Linked DNA regions of Homo sapiens: region 2 is linked to region 1. The links are contacts of gene promoters, found by promoter capture Hi-C in blood cells and fetal thymus (Javierre and others, 2016). All regions are on one chromosome and are shown on one strand. Each heading gives the region's core, a stretch centred on a gene start or on the middle of the fragment in contact. The rest is flanking DNA. Distances are from core to core; before and after follow the strand shown.

Region 1 (7,321 bases), core at 3,433-5,932:
GTTTGTATCTGTTTGATTCATGACCGGAGTGAAGGGACCAGTTTCTAGTTGGAGTGAGCTGAGTTCCCATCCACCCTTTCAAAGCCCCCACCATCTCTCTGCTGCTTTGTTCCCTGGTTGCAATTTTCTTGGTGCCCTCAGCCTAGCACAGATCTTTTGGAGGTTGACCTGGGTCCCTGAAGATGAGCGGAGTTATGAGGCTGCCCGTGGGGAAAGAATGGGAGAAGAAGCATGGGTGAATCTTGTTCCTGAGGTTATAGAGGGTGTTTCAAGAGGTGCCATGGAAATAAGGGTGCATAGTGTTCACTGCTGCGAAAAAGGCAAAATACTTTTCCACTCTGTCGGAGTAAAATCGCAAAAATGCTCTTCTAGGGTGGGACAGGTGGGTCTTTATTCTGATGCTAATGGTGACATCTGGTCAGTCAAGGCTCTTGGAAGATTCAGCTCTGCATAAGCTTGGGGATGGTGAAGCTAATGTCCCAAGAAGCCCACAAGAAAAAGTTAGACTTGTATGTCTATGGATATGGTCAGGGGTTTCTGAGGCAAATCAATGTAGATAAGGAAGTCTGTGAGTTGGCATATGCTTGAGGAAAACATGGTATCAGGAGGCAGGTATTATACTGGTTTAGGTCAGGGCTTTGGTTTCAGATAGACCTTGGTTTGATTCCAGCTCTGCATTTTACCACCTATGTGAGTTTGGGCAAGTTACTGGAACTCTCTAAAGCTTGAGTTTCCTTATCTGTCCTAATAGTGTAGATCATAACAGTACTTTCTTGTAGGGTTGTTGTAAGGATGAAATAACTCACATTGCAAGTGCTCAATAAATGTTCTTATTAGCGAAATGATGGTTATCTAGTGATTCATCTAGAGCACAGCCCTCAAACTTGAATGGGTCCAGAGACCTGCTACTCAAAGTGTGGGCACCAGCCCAGTAGGACTGACATCAACTGGAATCTGATGGGAAATGCAGAATCTCAGGCTCTAGGCCAGAACTACTCAATCAGAACTTGCCTTTTAACAAGATCCTAGATGATTCACACGCACATTCCAGTCTGAGAAGCTCTGATCCGGAAGAGATCAGGAGATGTTCAAGTGCTGAAACACAAGTAAGGCATGGCAGAAGCTAAAATGTGAAGTATTGAGAGTAAACCAGGAGAGCAGATGGTTATTCCTTCCATCCCTTAAGGATCTTATCTTTCAAACTTCTGCTTTACCACTTCAACACACAAAACAGAGATAGATTTCCTTCTAGGAGTGTGTGTGTGTGTGTGTGTGTGTGTGTGTGTTGAGAACATCAATGGTTCAATAATTGCTTCATAGTCTTTTCTTCCAGGAAAGAGCATTTGAATTTGGCTACAGAGAATAGATAGGTGGGATTTTATTAGGCAGAGCAAGGTGGAAAGGACATATTTGGGAGACAGAAGACATAAGCAAAGGCAAGAGGCAGGAGAATTCAGGGCACTTTCTTGGACTCCTAAGTAGTTAAGTTTGACTGGAGTAGGGAGTGGGTAGTAGAGTGATGAGAATAGTTGTAAGTAAGACTGGAAATACATGTGAAACCTGGGTCATGAAGGGCCTTGACTCCTCTTCAAGATTTTGGATTTTATTCTGAACTACTGAAGGCATTTATTGTACATGTCTGTGCATTCTTCTTGCACAAACAGTCCAGCTCCCAAGGAAGAGGGGCCCAGCCCATTGGAGGTGGCCCCACGTCCTTCAGTGCCTGGAGTTCTTGTCCTTCAGAGTGGGCTGGGGGTGGAGCTGGACATCCTGAAAACTTTTAGTGAGATTGCAATCAGATGAGCTCATTTACAAATGGCCCTACGCTGTTGACTTGGTCATTTTATGGACAGTGCTAATGGCCCAGTCAGTTAGGCCTACGTTTGGTTCACCTGTGTATACATCACTTGGATATTATGTCCCATATCATTGTTGGCCCTTCTGAGTTAAGTTCGTTGGCACAGATTTACTTTGTCCACCCAGACTGAAACTGCACCTCTGAAGACTCCATCACGGAAGGTGACTCTGTGAATAACTGCTTAGTCAACCTAATAGATGATCTAGATGAGAGATTAGCAAATTTAACACTACTCCAAGGTGAGGTATCAAGCAGCTCTTCCCACATACAGGGAGATGGGGGGAGAACAGACTAAGGAAGATCTTGGACTCTCTCTCTCATTAGAGAAATGGGGGTGGGAATTAGGGACTAGCCTGTGTACTACTGACCTATGGCATAGTCTCTCAAAACCCATTTCAGAGCCAGGCACAGTGGTACATGCCTGTAGTCCTGGCTACACAGGAGGCTGAGGCAGGAGGATCCCTTGAGCTCAGGAGTTTAAGGCTGTAGTGTGCTATGATCATGCCTGTGAATAACCACTGCACTGCAGCCTGGACAACATAGCAAGACTCTGTCTCTAAAAACAAAACAAAACAAACAAACAATCATTTCTGATAGTTTACTTTGCCTGTCAAAATGAAGAGCAGGTAGGATAGAATCAAAAGCTTTAAAAAAATCAAAACAGCTTACAGCTGCTATTTTCTCTCTGCCTCTGCGATCATTCAGAGAAAATAAATTCACTGGTCTAGTCCAACTTATTCTTCCCTAAGCCCTGCTGTTTTTTTTTTCTAGTATTTCATATTGCCTTGGTGGTTGCTAAGTGATTGTTGGATTTAGCCCCAGTATATTCTCAGATAACTATGCCAATAATCTATAATTACCAGAATTCATCTTTTCTCCCTTTTGGAAAGATGGACTGGCTATTTTTTTCTTGTAAACCTTGGGTGTTTAATTCTGCCCTACAGGATGATGTCAGAGATAATAGCTGGTGAGTCTTTAATAATAACTGCGAATTCCTACAATATTGTAAGGTAAACGTCAAAAGGTTTCATGCATATATATGTATCTTTTAATCTTTCATTTGAACAGTTTCACTTTTTATGATCTTGCTGTTGGTTCTGGAATTATAGGACAAATTTTTCTTTTCTTTTCTTTTCTTTTTGAGACAGGGCCTTGCTCTGTCACTCATGCTGGAGTACAGTGGCTTGATCATAGCTTCCTGCAGCCTCTAATTCCTGGGTTCAAGTGATCCTCCTGCCTCAGCTGCCAAAGTAGCTGGGACTACAGGTGCACATCACCACGCCTGGTTAACTTTTTATTTTTTTTTTTAGAGACACGGTCATGCTATGTTGCCCAGGCTGGTCTCAAACTCCTGGGGTCAAGTGATCCTCCTGCCTCAGACTCCAAAGTGTTGGGATTATAGGCATGAGACAATACACCTGGCCCAGGGGATTTTTTTCTCCATCACTTAACATGAAATTCACCAAGCAAAACCTCTTACATAACCATGGGACCAATAATCTCAGATTCTCCATTCCCCTCCCCACCTTGATATTAGGATTATGCAGCTTAATGAGTCAAGCTGTCCCACCCTACCCACCTATTACTCCCACTCCCAGGATACCAGGAGTTTTGTATGGGATACATAAATGATCCTTTTTTCCATTCCGTTAAGCTGTATGCAAATTGTGTGTGTGCTTATGTACATTTTTCTGGGGATAACTTTGGTAGTTTTCATCAGATTCTTAAAGGTGTCTGTTTGCTAAAGCCAGATTAAGAGCTACTATAAAGAACACATAGCCTCCGTTATTCCAGCCCAATCTTTGGAAATAGAGATTATCAGAATGGGTACATCCTAATATTTGCCGCAAATGACTCTGAAGATGCGGATGCAATTACATAAATCCCAGGCTCCTTCAACATATAAACCCAGAAGTGTGATTTCAGGGCCCCAGACATGCCCTGTCTCTACTTCATTCTCTTGTCCCAAATTGCAGCACCCAGAATATTTCTTCCTAAGCATTACTCAGGCTATCCTATTTTCTTATTCAGAAACTATATTCCTGTTCTTTAGCTATTTCCTGCACAAATCAATTTCTTTTTTTTTTTTTTTTTTTTGGTAGTCATTTTAATTTACTTCTTGGTTTCAATTTGGATTGACTTTCTGCATTTTGCTACTGGTAGAATTGCAATGCATTGGGCCAGTGGTAGACCACTACCTGTCAGGAGAAATTTCTTTTGTTCTTTGGTTTTTACTCGCACATCACAGTGATGGGCGTCATTCAGTGGTTCTAAACCCTCAGTACACTTAGAAATCACCTAAGAAGCTTTGAAAACCATGAAAGCCTGGTCCCTATCTCCAAGGATTTTAATTCAATCGATCTGAATGAGGCCTGGGTGTTGACTTAAAAAAAATGCAACATGCATTGAGCCACTGGTCTAATCTAGCAGGAATTGGCAACGAGTGTGAGGGTCTTTCAAAAGATGCTGTTTTACCTGGCTAAGGTTGTGGCATGCCCACAGAGTAACCACCTCCTTTTCTTTCCCCAGATGGTGCTCCTGGCCAGGTGCGAGGGGCACTGCAGCCAGGCGTCACGCTCCGAGCCTTTGGTGTCGTTCAGCACTGTCCTCAAGCAACCCTTCCGTTCCTCCTGTCACTGCTGCCGGCCCCAGACTTCCAAGCTGAAGGCACTGCGGCTGCGATGCTCAGGGGGCATGCGACTCACTGCCACCTACCGGTACATCCTCTCCTGTCACTGCGAGGAATGCAATTCCTGAGGCCCGCTGCTGTGTGTGGCTTCTGGATGGGACAACTGTAGAGGCAGTTCGACCAGCCAGGGAAAGACTGGCAAGAAAAGAGTTAAGGCAAAAAAGGATGCAACAATTCTCCCGGGACTCTGCATATTCTAGTAATAAAGACTCTACATGCTTGTTGACAGAGAGAGATACTCTGGGAACTTCTTTGCAGTTCCCATCTCCTTTCTCTGGTACAATTTCTTTTGGTTCATTTTCAGATTCAGGCATTTTCCCCCTTGGCTCTCAATGCTGTTTGGGTTTCCAACAATTCAGCATTAGTGGGAAAAAGTGGGCCCTCATACACAAGCGTGTCAGGCTGTCAGTGTTTGGTGCACGCTGGGGAAGAATTTACTTTGGAAAGTAGAAAAGCCCAGCTTTTCCTGGGACATCTTCTGTTATTGTTGATGTTTTTTTTTACCTTGTCATTTTGGTCTAAGGTTGCCATTGCTGCTAAAGGTTACCGATTTCAAAGTCCAGATACCAAGCATGTGGATATGTTTAGCTACGTTTACTCACAGCCAGCGAACTGACATTAAAATAACTAACAAACAGATTCTTTTATGTGATGCTGGAACTCTTGACAGCTATAATTATTATTCAGAAATGACTTTTTGAAAGTAAAAGCAGCATAAAGAATTTGTCACAGGAAGGCTGTCTCAGATAAATTATGGTAAAATTTTGTAAGGGAGCAGACTTTTAAAGACTTGCACAAATACGGATCCTGCACTGACTCTGGAAAAGGCATATATGTACTAGTGGCATGGAGAATGCACCATACTCATGCATGCAAATTAGACAACCAAGTATGAATCTATTTGTGGGTGTGCTATAGCTTTAGCCGTGTCACGGGCATCATTCTCTAATATCCACTTGTCCATGTGAAACATGTTGCCAAAATGGTGGCCTGGCTTGTCTTCTGAACGTTTGGTTCAAATGTGTTTTGGTCCTGGAGGCTCAAATTTTGAGTTATTCCCACGTTTTGAAATAAAAAGAGTATATTCAAAATTTTGACTGTTTAAGTATTTTTTTCCTACTTGATATCCTACTATCATGTGGACTAGAACATACATGTAGCTAGTGCTTGAGCATCTCCTATGATATAGTAAAAGAGTCAAAAAAAAAAAAAAGGAGACAGAAATGGGGTTCCAGAATGCATTGTGGGAACATTTTTTTGAAATCAATGTAACAAGGTGTTGAGGGCTTATTAAATTTGACTCTGAGTTTTAGATTTTAGCCCATTGAATAAACACAAAATCTAATGCATTTTGGCTTCCTTGGAAGCTATGGAATGAAACAGAGGAGTCCCCTCCTTTTTAATTTCTTCACTTTTCTCAGAAGAAAATAAATATCCATAAGTGAAGTTGGAAGAACCAGCAGAAGGACAAATAGTTAACAACATTTCTGTGCCATTGACTGTGCAGTGCTCAGGATCGAATGATATTACTGGGCATTACAAGAATACTCATGATGTTAGCACAGTGCTATGTCCCTCTTAGGTATCTCAATACAAATCCAGACTTGGCAATTCAGTTTCCAGGGCAACCTTGTCCTGGTTAACTAGAGATGATATTAACTCCCCCACTGTTAGTACAGCCAACCTGTGAATTACTTTTCCAGTAGAGATAATGGTTTTGAACACTCTTTGGCACAGCTTTCACACATTCTTAAGAAAGCCAGCAGGGTTATACTTGTATTCATGGCTTTGAAACAGAATGAAACTAATGCTATTAAATCTTGACCTTGATCTTAATCTCTGTGGTGACACAGCCAGCCAGTCTCCTAAATTGGAGGTTCTCCTCATTCTGAAGGCAAATGCGAAATGGCAGTTTGGACCATTACATGAAGAATTTTGTCATAAATGGAATTAAATTTAATACTGAAAGTTAAATGGTTATAATTTTTAACTGATAATGAAAGTATTAACTGTTGGTCACATTTATGACTGTTCTTTCATGTTGCTAATCAAAAAGTGAAAAATAATACTTCCAGCCTTAAAAAGTATTTTCTGGGCCTTAAAAACTCAATTTTCTTTGAGAATCTATAATCTATACCCTAAACTCTAGTCTTTATTTCCTTCTACCAATTTGGGACTACAGGGGGCAGTTATATGACTCATATCTTCCAAATTCTCTGGAAGCCATAGAAAATAGTCCCTTCAAATCCCATTACATGGTCTATTGACAAAGTTTCCCCCATGGAAATGAGCAGAATATACTTGGAGCATTAAAGAATCACAGGACAGTGGCCTTGGAAGAACTATTAGAAAGCATACATCCTCTTCTCTCCTTAAATACATGAGCAAATGGAGGCCTGTAGAAATCCAGGAACTGGCTGAAAGTCACAGACACTCTTGGATTTGGAACTCGAACCCACGCTTCCTGCTCCTCACAACCCTGACTGCTTTAATTTCCTTCCTGCCACCAGTGAAAGGAGCCTGGCTCCTTTCAGGATCTTAGAGTGTGGCGAGACAGGGTAAAGTTTAGGGGAATAGCAAGGCTGAGAAAGGGGAAAAATAGTTATATTTTCCCTAAAGACCTAAAAATAGCCTTGGGAACTGAGAGATTTCAGACATTACTGGATATTAAGTTACTATGGAATTTGTTTTCTATCTTTTAAAAATTAAACATATTTAGCCTTATTTTGGTGTCTACCCCTAAGGATTGAGAGACAACCAAATGAAAACATTGA
Region 2 (7,321 bases), core at 4,723-7,222, 1.3 Mb before region 1:
TTCCCAGATGCCAAAGAACATCTATAAGCACCAGTACCATTCAGGAAAACATTACTTCATCAAGTGAACTAAATTAGGTGCCAGGGGCCAATTTGGCAGAGACAGAGATATGTGACCTTTTAGACAAAGAATTCAAAATAGCTGTGTTGAGGAAACTCAAAGAAATTCAAGATAACATTCTTGAACATTTCTTTTCAAAGTACCTGGTTTTAACTTCACATTGCTGAAAGAGGCACTGAAGGGGGTAGGAAAATCAGCCTTGAATGGCTTACACCACCACCCCTATCCCCATGGCAGCAGCCACATCATGTGGAGAGAGAATCTGTGTCCTTGGGGGAGGGAACATTTATTTTTAGGGAAGGAAATCAGAATCCTATCAGATAAACTCAACAAAAAAACTGAAATAATTAAAAAAGAATCACGCAGATATTCTAGAGTTGAAAAGTGAAATTGACATGCTGAAGAATGCATCAGAGTCTCTCAACAGCAGACTTGATCAAGCAGAACAAAGAATTAGTGAGCCTGAAGTCAGGCTATTTGAAGATACGCAGTCAGAGGAGACAACAGAAAAAAAGAATTTAAAAAAAGCATGACTACAAATATAGAAATTAGCCTTAAAAGAGCACATCCAAGAGATACTGCCCTTAAAGAGGAAGTAGAGAGAAAGATGGAAATAGAAAGTTTATTCAAACAGATAATAACAGAGAACTTCCCAAACCTAGAGAAATACATCAATATTCAAATACAAGAAGCTTATAGAACACCAAGAAATTTTAATACAAAGAAGACTACCTCAAGTCATTCAATAATTAAACTCTCAAAGGTCAAGGATAAAGAAAGGATCCTAAAAGCAGCAAGGGAAAAGCAACAAATGACATACAATGGAACTCCAATACATCTGGAAGCAGACTTTTCAGTGGAAACCTTGCAGGCCAGAAGGGAGTGGCATGACATATTTAAAGTGCTGAAGGAAAAAACTTTTATCCTAGAATAGTAATATCCGGTGAAAATGTCCTTCAAACATAAAGGAGAAATAAAGATTTTCCCAGACAAACAAAAGCTAAAAGATTTCATCAACACCAAGCCTGTCCTACAAGAAATGCTAAAGGGAGCTCTTCAAGCAAAAGAAAAGAACATTAATGAGCAATAAGAAATCATCTGAAGGTATGAAACTCACTGGTAATAATAAGTACATAGAAAAACACAGAATATTATAACACTGTAATTGTGGTGTGTAAACTCATATTTTAAGTAGAAAGGCAAAAACATAAACTGATCAAAAATAATAACTACAACAATTTTTCAAGATGTAGTACAATAAGATATAAATTGAAACAACAAAAAGTTAAAAAGCAGGGAGACAGAGTTGTGTAGAGTTTTTATTAGTTTTGTTTTTGTTTGTTTGTTTATGCTATCAGTGTTAAGTTGTCATTGGTTTAAAATAACGGGTTATAAGATGTTCTTTGCAACCCTCATGGTAACCCCAAACCAAAAAACATACAACAAATACACAAAAAATAAAAAGCAAGAAATTAAAACATACCACCAGAGAAAATTACCTTCACTAAAAGGAAGACAGGGAGGAAAGAAAGAAGAGAAGACCACAAAACAATCAGAAAAAAATTAATAAAATGACAGGAGTAAGTCCTTACTTATCAATAATAACACTGAATGTAAATAGTGTAAATTCTCCAATCAAAAGTTATAGAGCAGGTGAATGAATAGAAAAACAAGACCCAATGATCTATTGCCCACAAGAAACACACTTCACCTATAAAGACACACATAGACTGAAAATAAAGGGATGGAAACAGATATTCCATGCAAATGGAAAACAAACAAGAGCAAGAGTACCTATACTTATATCAGACAAAATAGATTTCAGGTCAAACACAATAAGAAAAGACAAAGAAGGTCATTATATAATGATAAAGGGGTCAATTTAGCAATTTTAAATATATGTGCACCCAACACTAGAGCACCCAGATATAGAAAGCAAATAATAGCCAAAACTATCCTGGGCAAAAAGAATAAAACCGGAGGAATCATATTACCTGACTTCAAATTATACTACAGAGCTATAGTAACCAAAACAGCATGGTACCGGCAGAAAAACAGACACATAGAACAATGGAACACAACAGAGAATGCAGAAACAAATCCACACATCTACAGTAAACTCACTTTAGACAAAGGTGCCAAAAACATACATTGGAGAAAGGACAATCTCTTCAATAAATGGTGCTGTGAAAATTGGATATCCATATGCAGAAGAATGAAACTAGACCCCTATCTCTCGTTGTATGTCAAAATCAAATCAAAATGGATTAAAGACTTAAATCTAAGACCTCAAACCATGAAGCTACTACAAGAAAACATTGGGGAAAATCTCCAGGACATTGGACTGGGCAAAGATTTCTTGTATAATACCCCACAAGCACAGGCAACCAAAGCAAAAAATGGGCAAATGGGATCACATCAAGTTAAAAAACTTTTGCACAGCAAAGGAAACTATTAACAAAGTGAAGAGACAACCCACAGAATGGGAGAAAATATTTGCAAACTATTTATCTGACAAAGAATTAATAATCAGAATATATAAGGAGTTCAAACAACTCTATAGAAAAAAATTCTAATAATCTGATTATTTAAATGGGCAAAAGATTTGAGCAGACATTTCTCAAAAAAAAAAATGTAGAGATGGAAAACAGGTTTATGAAAAGGTGCTCAACTACAGTGAGATATTTTCTCACCCCAGTTAAAATGGCTTTTATCCAAAAGTCAGGCAATAACAAATGCTAGAGAAAATGTGGAGAAAAGGGAACCCACATACACTGTTAGTGGGAAGGTAAATTAGTACAACCACTATGGAGAACAGTTTGGAGGTTCCTCAAAAAACTAAAAATTGAGTTACCATGTGGTTCAGCAATTGCACTATATACCCTAACAGGGTATATACTCAAAAGAAAGGAAATCAGTATATCAGAGCGGTATCTGTACTCTCAGGTTTACTGTAGCACTATTCACAATAGCCAAGATTTGGAAGCAACCTAAGTGTCCATCAACAGACAAATGGATAAAGAAAATGTGGTACATGCACACAGTGGAATACTATTCAGCCATTAAAAATAATGAGATCCTGTCATTTGCATCAACACAGATGGAACTGGAGATCATTATGTTAAGTGAAATAAGCCAGGCATAGAAAGACAAAATTCACTTGTTCTCACTTATTTGTGGGAATCTAAAAATAAAATCAGTTGAATTCATGGAGATAGAGAGTAGAAGGATGGTTACCAGATAGAAAGGGTAGAAGTATGGAAAGGAAGGATGGAAAGTAGAAGGACGGAAAGTAGAAGGACGGAAAGGGTAGTGAGGGTGTCGGGGGAGGGGAAGTGGGGATGGTTAATGGGTACAAAAAATAGTTACAAAGAATGAATAAGATCTAGTATTTGGTAGCACAACAGGGTGACTACAGTCAATAATAATGTAATTGAACATTTTTAAATAACTGAAAAAGTATAATTAGATTGTAACACAAAGAATACATGCTTGAAGGGATGGATACCCCATTCACCCTTATATGATTATTACACATTATATGCCTGTATCAAAATATCCCATATACCCCATAAATATATATACCTACTATGTGCCCACAAAAATTAAAAATTAAAAAAAACAATGAATTGGGTAAATGTAAATGAAATAAAAGTCTATAAACTTCAAAAATAATTATGTTTTATGAAATATGTCTACTAAAAATTGTTCCAAAAATCTTTTTTTGTAACTTGAAATCTTTTTTTCTAATTTTTTTTTTTTTATTTTGAGATGGAGTCTTGCTCTGTCTCCCAGGCTGGAGTGCAGTGGCGTGACCTCAGCTCACTGCAACCTCCACCGCCTCTGGGGTTCAAGCAATTCTCCCGTCTCAGCCTCCTAAGTAGATGGGACTACAGGTGCATGCCACCATGCCTGGCTACTTTTTGTATTTTTAGTAGAGACGGGGTTTCACCATAATGGGCTGGTCTCAAACTCCTGACCTCAGGTGATCCACCTGCCTCCGCTTCCCAAAGTGCTGAGATTACAGGCATGAGCCACCACACCCGGCCGGTAACTTGAAATCTTAAAGTTATGCTATGTTCAATTAAGTAATAAATATTCAATAAATATTGAAGCCATTTCTGAGTAAGTTAAAACATTAAAACATTAACTGCTGAACATAAGATTAAAGTATATATACTTTGGCGTCTTGTTTTTATACAGTATAGAGAAGCTAAATATATTTGGGTCTGCTAATAAACATGAAAGATTATATATGACATGATGTTTATTTACAAAATGCTGATATGAAACTGTTTATAATGCTTACTAGTTTTCACTAGAAATTAAGGTTACTAAGAATTTAAAATTCTAATTAATATATGTAATTAAAACTTCTAGAAATAATAAGGGCAACAACTGTATATGTGAAGGAAGTAAGGCATGTTTTGTCAAGGAAGTTTAAGTATAAGGGTGTATTTTTGTTAAGAGAAAAAAAAGAATAATTTTTGTCCTAAATTAGAGTGATTAATTGTTCTACAATGGGAGAGAGGAAGAGTATAGGACAAACTAAATTGATATAAGAAAGTATAGACAGTTTAAAATTTGAAAAAGGAACTTCATGTGTTGTCAAGCTCGCTAAAACTGAATGAAATTTATTAGAAGGGTTTTTAAAAATTAGCTTTAATATCAAAAGTACATTGATACAAAGCTAGACACTGGCTTTTTTTCTGTTGAAAGAACAAAGTTTTCTTGGTGAAAGGTTTTTCTTATCTTTTAAGTGATCTACCTTACAAAGATTTGTGTTTTATCAGGATAATTTCTTGTGCTTCGTGTTGTCTTTTACTAGGTCTTTGTTTATATACATATATATAAAAATGAGTATTCTCAACATTAAAAGAGCTAAGTTTTTTTACAGCTATATAACCTTTCTGTATTTGCCTCTCATTGTTTCATAATGACTAATGATCCTATTTAATCAAGTGTTTTAGACTTTTTGATATTTTTTACAAACTTCCCAAAATAAGCTTCTAAATTAAGTCTTTTTGACCTAGAACTAACTTTGGGACATTCCAGAGGACCCCTGTAATGTCTGAAAAGATCTGTGCATAATTTTTGATAGTAGATTGTAGCCATATTTGTTGTTTTTGAGTTTTATTGTCTATTTGTAGACTGGACTGAATTCTGAATTCATCTTTATTCCTCCAATCCAATTTTTTCCCATTTTTCAGACTTGAAATCACTCAGAACAAGATGTGCTCTGTTCCTGAAACCCTGCCAGGCAGTTATAGACAACTTGATGTGACTTCTGAGGACAACCCTTATGCCTGATATGTGGACCACTCAGGAAGATCATTGAAACCCTCAGTACCATAACCAGAGACATTCAAACTGCAAACCAGAAAAATATGTTTCAAGCTCAAATCTAGCAATCTTGTTAACTAAATTTCCTCTGGACTCAGACTGAATTTATAGTTTGCTCTAGTCATTGACCTTTGGTTTTCTTTTGTTTCTCTAGAAATGTTAGTTGAGTTGGTTTGTGAGGACCTTGGCTAAGGAACATACTGCAGTCTTTCAGTATTATCCTCCTGGTAGTCATCATAATCTCCCTGGTGAACTACATTCACTTGAGGGTCTTAAATGTGTGTTCACAGTCATCAACGGTATGCCAGATGATCTCACTGTAATTAGAGCAACAAAAATGAGATGAACAACAAAAGGAATCTTTCCTCAATGAGCTTGATGTTGTGACTTATGAGTTTCACACTGAGACAAGGACAACTTAGCCATGATGGTCACAGAGAGTGGAGCTTATGCCCAAGTTTTAGTCAATATCTCTTAAATGAGAGGCTGATCAAAAAGGATGAATTATGTTTTAAAATTCTAATTGGAAGGCCATTAGACTGAGGTGGCTCTGGCACTTTAAATTCCTGTGTGAACAAACCAAAGCCTAATGTAAATAGTAAATTTAAACTAGAAATTGTACCAATCAAAAAAATCACCAATTAATCTCTAACTAGGGACTTTCCACTCTAACCAATAAAAATTGTTTTCTTTGTCCTGCTTCTGCAAACACTATAAAAGTTTCCTTTCTTGCCCCTCCCAGCAGAATGTTTGCAGTCTGATACTGCCCTGATTCATGAATCGCTGAATATTCAAATAAACTCTTTAAAATTTAAATGTGCTTAAGTTTTTCTTTTATCACACCTGACACCAAAAGCATGATTCAAAAAGAAAAAATTAACAAATTGGACTTCAAAATCAAAACTTTCACTCTGCAGAAGACTCTGTTAAAAGAATAAAAGACAAGTTAGCCCTGGGGAGAAAATATTTGCAAGCCACATATCCAACAGAGGACTCGGATCTAGAATATATAAACAAGCGTCAAAACTCACCAATAAAAAGCAAACATGACCAGACATTTTACTGAGGAAGCTATACAAATGCTAATAAGCACGTGCTTCATCATCAGAAAATTGCCTTTACCTGCTCTTCCCACCAATCTTTAGCAAAACTTGTCAATTGTCCAGAGGCAATCCCCACTCCCTCTTACCTCCCTTTTCCTCACCCCCAGCCCCATCTTCCTATGCACTTTCTCATATTTTCAAACCGTGCCCCGCTCCCCACCTCCACCCTCTCACAGAATGTGAGGCAGCCTGACTTCCCTGATTTGGTTCTCAGAGGTTCTCTCTACTCCCAAATTAGCACTTCCATCTACTCCATGCTGCGGACCTTATCTTGGTATCCTGAGGAAGGCAATCCTGGGGCAGTTAAATCCTACCAAATCCGGCCAAGCCACCCCGAGAAGTGAAGCAAGTTGGTAAAGGAAGAGAAGCTTTCAGGTCTGTGGGAGAGGGATAGACACAGCTGTGTGCTGTCAGAGGGCTCTTTCTGGTGCTCCCCTCATCATGCCACAGAGGCCACCGGGTTCTTTCTGGTCTCTTGTTCTCAGACCAGCAAGAGAAGATGGACTAACCTGAGGTTTTCTCTTCCCTAAGCAGCAAAAAGCTTTCAAATCAGTGCTAAATGTGCCAGTTAATGGCAAGCAAGCTAACCTCTAGTTATTTCACAGGCAAATATGGTAAAAGTGGGGGAAGGAGGGCTGATTAAGGGGCAGGACAAATGACCTAGCACAGAGGGGTCAAAAATTGGGGTGCACGTGTAATCCATAGGGACAGATAAACCTGGAATTAAAACAGTGGAGGGTGGAGGCTTTCAGGATCCTTTGAAACTCCCAGGTGGAACGCAGGTTGGACACACATCCTGCATGGACCTTTCCTGC

The links. The method cuts DNA at HindIII sites, captures the fragments that hold promoters and counts their contacts. A CHiCAGO score of 5 or more calls a contact.
Region 2: a fragment that was not itself captured here is called in contact with the fragment with the promoter of NDP-AS1 in region 1 in 1 of 17 cell types (erythroblasts); the score reaches 7.0 in erythroblasts.

What each region holds. Positions count from the first base shown.
Region 1 is chrX:43,947,093-43,954,413 of GRCh38, reverse strand. NDP-AS1 (NDP antisense RNA 1) reads right to left here and starts at 4,682. Exons shown (of 6, transcript NR_046631.1): 1 at 4,334-4,682; 2 at 1,012-1,095. NDP (norrin cystine knot growth factor NDP) reads left to right here. Exons shown (of 3, transcript NM_000266.4): 3 at 4,388-5,638. The coding sequence ends at 4,615. RefSeq lists enhancers at 3,971-4,487, 4,488-5,005. The HindIII fragment of the contact is 3,781 bases long and covers 4,167-7,321 here.
Region 2 is chrX:45,201,177-45,208,497 of GRCh38, reverse strand. No RefSeq gene overlaps it. Among named protein-coding and RNA genes, the nearest start is that of DIPK2B, 4.0 kb to the right of the region's middle. The HindIII fragment of the contact is 1,808 bases long and covers 5,069-6,876 here.